3 separate regions of the Homo sapiens genome follow, and regions 1 and 2 are each linked to region 3. The links are contacts of gene promoters, found by promoter capture Hi-C in blood cells and fetal thymus (Javierre and others, 2016). All regions are on one chromosome and are shown on one strand. The core of a region is centred on a gene start or on the middle of the fragment in contact, and the rest is flanking DNA. Distances in the headings are between cores, read along the strand shown.

The links. Contacts are between HindIII fragments. The CHiCAGO score rates a contact against its expected background, and 5 or more counts as called.
Region 1: a contact is called between a fragment that was not itself captured here and the fragment with the promoter of TAF4B in region 3, in 2 of 17 cell types (activated CD4 T cells and total CD4 T cells). The highest score is 6.2, in activated CD4 T cells.
Region 2: a fragment that was not itself captured here is called in contact with the fragment with the promoter of TAF4B in region 3 in 1 of 17 cell types (activated CD4 T cells); the score reaches 7.3 in activated CD4 T cells.

What each region holds. Positions count from the first base shown.
Region 1 is chr18:26,134,450-26,137,149 of GRCh38, forward strand. The region is part of intron 1 of PSMA8 (proteasome 20S subunit alpha 8); the gene reads left to right. Among named protein-coding and RNA genes, the nearest start is that of PSMA8, 1.9 kb to the left of the region's middle. The HindIII fragment of the contact is 2,707 bases long and covers 1-2,679 here.
Region 2 is chr18:26,322,698-26,325,397 of GRCh38, forward strand. All of the region lies in intron 11 of TAF4B (TATA-box binding protein associated factor 4b), which reads left to right. Among named protein-coding and RNA genes, the nearest start is that of TAF4B, 98 kb to the left of the region's middle. The HindIII fragment of the contact is 2,452 bases long and covers 77-2,528 here.
Region 3 is chr18:26,225,176-26,227,875 of GRCh38, forward strand. TAF4B (TATA-box binding protein associated factor 4b) reads left to right here and starts at 1,270. Exons shown (of 15, transcript NM_005640.3): 1 at 1,270-2,101. The coding sequence starts at 1,759. RefSeq lists enhancers at 900-969, 1,000-1,099 and a silencer at 1,750-1,909. The HindIII fragment of the contact is 8,704 bases long and covers 1-2,700 here.

The sequences.
Region 1 (2,700 bases), core at 76-2,575, 91 kb before region 3:
TGAACGCTCGTGGTCCAGTTCCTTGGTAGTTCAGAGACCCCTGGAAAAGTTAACAGTTGCTTCATGTTGGGAACTGTTTTTTAATAACAGTTACAATAAAAAATAAAAGTTGGCCACACCTGCTCCCCAAATACGGACTAAATCAATATAAAATTAAACTTTTGTTGATGAAGAAATGATTAAAAACACAGTTCAAACACACGCGTTAAAAATATCCCAAAATTGCTGGGCGCAGTGGCTCACACCTGTAATCCCAGCACTTTGGAAGGCCCAGGAGGGCGGATCACCTGAGGTCGGGAGTTTGAGACCAGCCTGACCAACATGGAGAAACTCCGTCTCTACTAAAAATACAAAATTAGCCAGGCGTGGTGGCGCATGCCTGTAATCCCAGCTACTCGGGAGGCTGAGGCGGGAGAATCGCTTGAACCTGGGAGGCAGAGGTTGCGGTGAGCCGAGATCGTGCCATTGCACTCCAGCCTGGGCAACAAAAGCGAAACTCCGTCTCGGGAAAAAAAAAAAAAATCCCAAAATTGTCCCAATATTTCCCAGCCTTGTAGAGGCTCAAAAGTCCAAGAACTTCCACTTTTTTGGCCACTTAAAAAATAATGCTGGAAGTTCCTTGAGAGATTACACCCTACCTTAGATTTATGTATCCACATTACTGAAAAACTTAAAAAATACTCAGGGTAGGAGTAATACTGCTGCCAAGTTTTAACTACGTTCAATAATTTTAGTGATTTATAAAAATTAAAGAGGACAAAAGTGCCCTAGTGACACAAGATCTATTACCCCAAATCTTCTAAGGCCTAGCCTATGAATTCAAAGGATCGGATATTTTTATTCTCTCAATTTCATGAGCATGTTTGTTGTGTACTTTGGAAATTGAGACAGTAGCTATGAGAATACACAGTACGTTTCTAAGTCTAGCAGTGTCTATATTTTCTGACTTTCTTTGTTAAAGAAGGAAATAATTCACTTTCATTATAAATCTAACAGATGTAAGTGGTAAAAAAAAAACACTAGAAGAAGAATCGTTTTAAAAGTATTTTTCTATTTAATTGGGCCCACTAGTTTTGCTTCTGTTTTGCAAGTAATTTTTTTAGAATTATAAATTTAAGGAAAGCCTGATGTAGCTTAAACCAAAAGGGTACCATTTTGATAAAAACAAAAAGTTATATAATCCCCAGCATAGCATGTAGCATATGGTTAGAAACTAATGGCCAAGTTTTAGAGCCTAAAATAAAGGGAGTAATAGGAGAAGACTAGGGTGTAATAAGAAACCACATTGGCTCATTTAACATGTTTTAAGAGTGCTGTAGAACTGATTGATGGTTCCTTTGTAATAAGCGGTAAAAGGGTAAGGATATAAAAATACCTATAGTGGGCATTTTTAAAGATACATTGGAAGAATGAGACACTTTTGTCTCAGAATTCTGAAATTATAATTTGCATGTTTGCATGGAGTTATTCATTGTGTTTCCTTGAGGGTGCTGTGACCTTTTACATAGGGTAAAGTTTTTTAATGGCACTTGATTATTAAAATATGTCACAAAATATTCTGTCTAGAAGTGAAAATTGATATTATGAGTTACAAATAAGCCAAGGTTGACCAGTTTTGACCAGTATGTAGATGTGATACTATTTAGTAATATAAAAATTATATGGGCCACAATTAAAGGCTTTGTGTTCTACTTCCTTGTTGATGATTATCTTATAGCATGAAAGGAGACAAGAGGCTTGTTTTCTTTTTGCTTCAGTTCCCTTTTCTGTAAATGCAAATTTGTTTAAATAACATTTTGGAGAAGTAATACCTTTCTTCTTAGGGAAAAGAAATGAATCCTTCACAATATTCCCATGAAAACGATAAGATTTATTATCATTCCTCATTTTGTCCTTTCTGTGACCCCAAACTGTTATTAGCTCTGTATTTCCTACTTTATCAAATCTCAGCTCCACAATGTAGCCATCAAAGTCTTCCATAATCCTATCCACCCTCTTAATTTAGGAGGCAGCTTCTTGGTTTCACTAATATGTGTTTCTGCCTACAGAAAGGGGAGAGAGGAAAGGGGAAAACACCTTTCTTTCTGCTGCTCTGCATCTTATTTATCCTTTAACAATCTCTGCACACTTGTCCTCTATAATGAAGCCTTCTCTGATCCACTCCAGTCATCTTGGATCTTTGTCTTTTCTGAATTTATAATCTGTACCACAGAATATTGTACAGTATTTACTATTTGACCTGATATTTTCTTTAATTTCAGGTATATTTAATAATCTCACACCAACTGGATAGTAAGATCTCTGAGGATCTAGATGGTATAATTCATTTTTCTATTTCTACTGCACAATATACAGTAGAGGGGCTAGGAAGGCAGTAACTAACATTTAAGAAATACTTTAACCAGGCATTTTGTGTATATTATCTAACATTAGGGACAGTGTTTAATCCCCTTTTATTATGTGTGAAACTGTGATTCAGAAGCATTTATAGCTTGCTGAAAGTACCCAGCTGGAGAGTGATGGAACCCATATTTATAATTATTTTTTTCTAGTTCTAAAGCCCCTGCTCCTTGCATTGTAGCATGAAATTTGTTCAATAAATGTTTGTATATTAATTAGCTTCCATTATCATGAATGTAGAAATCAGATATGTATCACTTAAGGCAATTAACTTCACTAAGCTTCAGTTTCTGTAATAGT
Region 2 (2,700 bases), core at 53-2,552, 98 kb after region 3:
GGTTTTATTAATTTTCTGTTTTTCTATTTTTGATTTCGTGTATCTCCACTCTAGTTTTTATATTATTTTCCTTCTAAGCTTCAGGCTTAGTTTGCTCTTCTTTTTTTTTAGTTTCATAAGATGTAAAGTTAGGTTTTTTATTTGAGATCTTCCTTTTATAATGTAGGCGTTTACTACTATACATTTCCCTCTGAGTACTGCTTTCACTGCATTCCATAAGTTTTGGTATGTTGTGTTGTCGTTTTCATTTATCTTTAAATATTTTCTCATTTCTTTTGAGATTTATTTGATTCTTTGTGACTGTAGAGTATGTTGTTTAATTTCCAAATATGTGGGAATTTTCCAGTTTTCCTTTTGTTGTTGGTTTCTAGCTGTATTCCGTTGTGGTCAGAGAAGATACTTTGTATGAATCATTCATTTAAAATGTACTGAGGCTTGTTTTATGACTTAACATACATTGTATCCTGGAAAATGTTTCATGTGCACTTGAGAAGAATGTGTGTTCTGCTCTTGTTTCATAGATGTCTGATAGATATAGTTGGTTTATAATGTTAAGTCCTCTGTTTCCTTATTGATCATCCATCTGGATGTTCTATTCATTATTGAAAGTGCAGTATTAAAATCTTCAACTATTGTGGAGCTCTATTTTTCTTTTTGTTTTAGAGACAGGGTCTCACTCTGTCATCCAGGCTGGAGTGCAGTGGTGCAATCATAGCTCATTGCAACCTTGAACTCCTGGACTCAAGCACCCTCCCACCTCAAGCCACCCTCCCACCTCAGCCTTTCCAGTAGCTAAGACTAACAGGCGTGTGCCACCACACCCAACTAATTTTTTTTTTTTTTTTTTTGAGACAGGGGCTCACTATGTTGCCCATGCTGTGGAATTGTTTTTTAAACAAAATTCTGTCAATGTTTGTTTGCTTCATATATTTGAGAAGTCTGGTTTGATGTGTATATCTTCTTGATGAATTGACCTTTTTATCAATATATAATAATGTCCTTGTTTGTCTCTTTTAAGGGTTTTGTACTTAAAGTCTATACTGTCTGATATTACTTTCTTTTGTTTGTTACTTGCATGGAATATCTTTTTCCATCCTTTCACTTTCAGCGTATTGGTATGGTTTCAACTAAAGTATAGACAGCATATAATTTGATCATTTTTTAAAATTCATTCTGCTAGTCTCTTTGAAGAGCTTACTCCATTTACATTTAAAATGTAATTACTGATAAATAACTTCTATTTTGCTATTTCTTTTCTGTATGCCTTATAAGTTTTGTGTTCCTCACTTCCTCTGCTTCTTATGTTTAATTGTTTTTGTTTTGTTCCATTTTGATCCCCTTCTCATTTCGTTTTGGATATATTTAGATATCTTCTTAGCAGTTACCATAGAGATTACAATTAACATCCTAAATCTACAATCTAGTTTGGATTGTTATCAGCTTACTTTTAATTTTGTGATGTGGGAAAATTATAGACATATTTTTGGCTTTTTACTATAACTCTTTAAAGTATCTTACAGTTTTTCAAACTTAGATTCTCCCTACTTCTGCCTTAATCACACTGTTGTTTCAGAGATACATGAATACCTTTTTTAGTAGAGATAGGGTTTCGCCATGTTGGCCAGGCTGGTCTCAAACTCCTGGCCTCAAGCAATCCACCCGCCTCGGCCTCCCAAAGTGTTGGGATTACAAGTGTGAGTCACCATGCCTGGCCACGTGAGTACATCTTGATTTATAGTAGGCAGTTTCTGTATAAAACATAATAAGTATAATTTACAATGGAATAGAATTTTTAAAGTAATATTTATTGAATGGCATTCAAAGCTCTATTGTGTATAGCTTTCAGCTGGAATTCTTTTGTTGTATATCAGTAGCGTATTTCCAAACATTTAGTTGCACTAGGCAAAATGGATGGTATCTCCCCCACCTAGAAGACCTCACTAAGTTAGCTTGAAGCTAACACTTCCTTAACCTGCTGTCTTGTATACTACCTATTCTGACTGATTTTCCCGAGCTTTCCTTTTCCTACACTCATTTGTTAATACAGCTAATGCCACTGTCTACATTTGCGTATATATAAAATAACAAAAGATTATCAGCCCTTTTAAGTCAAAATAATTATCATTTGGTTATATTTGGATTCAGTTTGAAATCACCATTATTTTGTAGACTTTGTTTGTAATAATCTTTATGTCACAGCTTTAGCCCTGTCCTTATATTTCAGTTCATCCCTGATAGGATTTATTTTTATCTGTACAGTGTAGGAAATTCTACTCCATAGATTTTATAAAAGTGAGTTACTCTTTTTAAAAAAGTGAAATCCCCCCATCTCTTTCCACTCTTGAACATCCATTTACTTTTGATAATCTTTCACCTGGTTTGATATAATTCTTTAATCATTAGTCATAAACTGAGATCTAAGTAAATAAGTAGAAAGTGACATGTAGTACAGAGCTTTTGATCTGGCTACCAGGTGTTTTCCCACTGAAGATATGTTATAGTCGCCTATATGACTATGGCCCTGAAGAAGCTTCATTCAGTGTTTTCCAGTTGAAAGGTGCTATTTGGGTTGCTTTAGATGGGATTCATTTGATGGTGTTGATATCATTTGGTCTGGGTCATTACATTTTCTTGGCTAAACCATTTAATATGCAGTGGCCTTAACATTGTAAAGCCCTACTCTGTTGGTGCATGAAATCT
Region 3 (2,700 bases), core at 20-2,519:
AATCAAGTTAACATATTCATCACTTTAACATGATTTGTCCTGAATGGAATCCCATTCATGAGGGCTCCACCCTTATGATCTAATCACCTTTCAAAGGCCCAACCTTCTAATATTATCAACTCCAGCTTTAGCATTTTAACACTCAGTTGGGGGTATAATCCTAGCACTTTGGGAGGCCCAGGCGGGAGCTCAGGAATTGGAGACCAGCCTGGACAATATAACGAGATCCCGTTTTTGCTAGGCATAGTGCCGCTCCCCTGTGGTTCCAGCTACTCGGGAATCTGAGGTAGGAGGGTAGGATGATCACTTGAGCCCAGGAGGTGGAGGCTGCAATGAGCCAATGGTGCCACTGCACTCCAGCCTGGGTGACAGAGTTAGATCCTGTTTCCAAAACAAAACAAAACAAAACAAAACAAAACAAAACACCACAACATTCAGATCATAGCATCTGCCTACTTGTAAAATCGCCTTTCAGTGCAGTGTTGGTTCCTACAAACATACAATATAATGACTTTAGCTTGAAATTAAGGCATCTTCTCTGACTGCATTACAAACAGGCAAGTTTTTTCATATCGATTCACTCAACACCTTTTATTTATCCAGATAATATCTAGGATCACGCTTAATATCTAAGTGCTAGAATCTAATTATATAGATATCAAAAGGCATTAAGTTTTTCAGAAGACAGACATACAATTTTAATGTTTAGAGGTGATAGAGACACCTATAGCAGCACCAAAGAAGAAACGATTTTCCATTTAAGATTTTAGGCAGTTTAACTCTAAAATATGAAAATAGGCACATCTCACAGACTATAAAACTATACGCCATTTTAATTTTTACAATGTCAATTCTAACTGCGAATTTTAGCAACGCTTCAGTGTGAAGACAGCAGAGAAAAACACTGAAAATGCGTGATTGAATTCTTATTGAGTCACTCTTCTCGGAAATCAGTCCTCCCCATTTTCTCCTTAAAAAATAGAATCCTGGAGATAGTCTAGTGCTGGCTTTTCGAGGAACACACTACAGGGGACACAAGGAGAGGAACACGGATGCCGCAGTTTTCCAAGTGCAGCTTGCCCCTCCCACGTGATAGGTTTCTGGCATCGCCCCTCCTTGCTGGCGATTCTGGGGAAGATTTTAACGCTCCCTGGAGCCGTCCCCAGTGACGTCACGGGCGCGGCTCCGCTCCTTGGCCAATCACGCGGCCGGATCCCGGGGAAACCCGGGGCGGTGGCGGCGGCCTGGGCGCGTGCGCGAGGTCTCCGCGTGGCTATATAAACATGGCTGGCGTGGCCGCGCGGCGGGGCCGTGCCAATCGCGCGTAGGGGGCTGTGGGCACTCGGGGTTCGTAGTTTTGAAATTTCTGGCGGGGGAGCAGCTGCGCAGTTAGGCTCGAGGTGTGAGCGACGACCTTCCGGGAGCCGCAAGTCCAGGCTCCCCCGCAGCGGGACCCGAGCCTGAGGCGCAGGGCTGAGGCAGCGCACGTGTGAGCGCCGCTGAGGAAGCTGCGAGAGGTCGGGCGGGTGTCGCTCCGGGGGCAGCCCAGGCTCGCGCGGACGAGAGGAAGGTCCGGGACGCGCGTGTCCTGCCGTGCAGCGGGCGCCCGTCACTGACTTCGCTGCTGCGGCCCCCGCGCCTCTCCCCAGCGATGCTGTGGAACCCGAACCGCACCGGAGTCGGCTGCCGCGCGCCAAGCCTCCCCTCACCTCTGCTCCCGGAACCGCAGCGCCAAAGCTGCCGCTGAGCCCCTGGGGGATGCCCGCCGGCCTCACCGAACCCGCCGGCGCCGCTCCCCCGGCTGCTGTGAGCGCCTCGGGGACCGTGACCATGGCCCCGGCCGGGGCGCTGCCGGTGCGGGTGGAGAGCACTCCGGTGGCCCTGGGCGCCGTGACTAAGGCTCCTGTCAGCGTCTGCGTGGAGCCCACGGCGTCCCAGCCCCTGCGGTCCCCCGTGGGGACCCTGGTGACCAAAGTGGCTCCGGTCAGCGCCCCTCCTAAAGTCAGCAGCGGCCCTAGGCTGCCTGCTCCTCAGATAGTCGCCGTGAAAGCCCCCAACACCACGACAATCCAGTTTCCTGCTAATTTGCAGCTTCCTCCAGGTATGTTGATAACCCTTTCCAGCCTTGTCTGTCGGTCCAGCTGGCGGCGACGGGAAAATTCGCAGCTCCAGATTGCTCCTAAAAAAACTGAGCCACGGGAACATTTCATAATCTTGACTTTACAGTTAACATATTCTTTTTGTGTCATTACTACATAGTTTTTCTTTTCATATTTAAGGAAAGAATCTTTTCACCTAAGTGATACAGTAAAAAGCTACATCAGCGTATTCGGGGGGGCTTTCAGGCACTGGCTCTTAGGTGGAGGAGATAATATAGCCGAAGTTAATTTCCATGTGGAGGATGGACCGGTTTATACCGTGGATTTCCATACGCTTAGATTATGTAGAAGTGCGTTGTACTTATTTTATTAATTATGAATGAATGAATGAACGAATGAGGTATGGTTTCGCTCTGTCGCCCAGTCTGGAGTGCAGTGACACGATCATGGCTCACCGACGTCGAACTCCTGGGCCCAATCGATCCTCCCGCCTCGGCCTCCCAAAGTGCTGGGATTACAGGCGTGAGCCACCGCGTACGGCCTAACAGTGAAGTTCTTGTGTATTACAACTGAAAGAGATTTTTAAATTTAACCAAGTCAG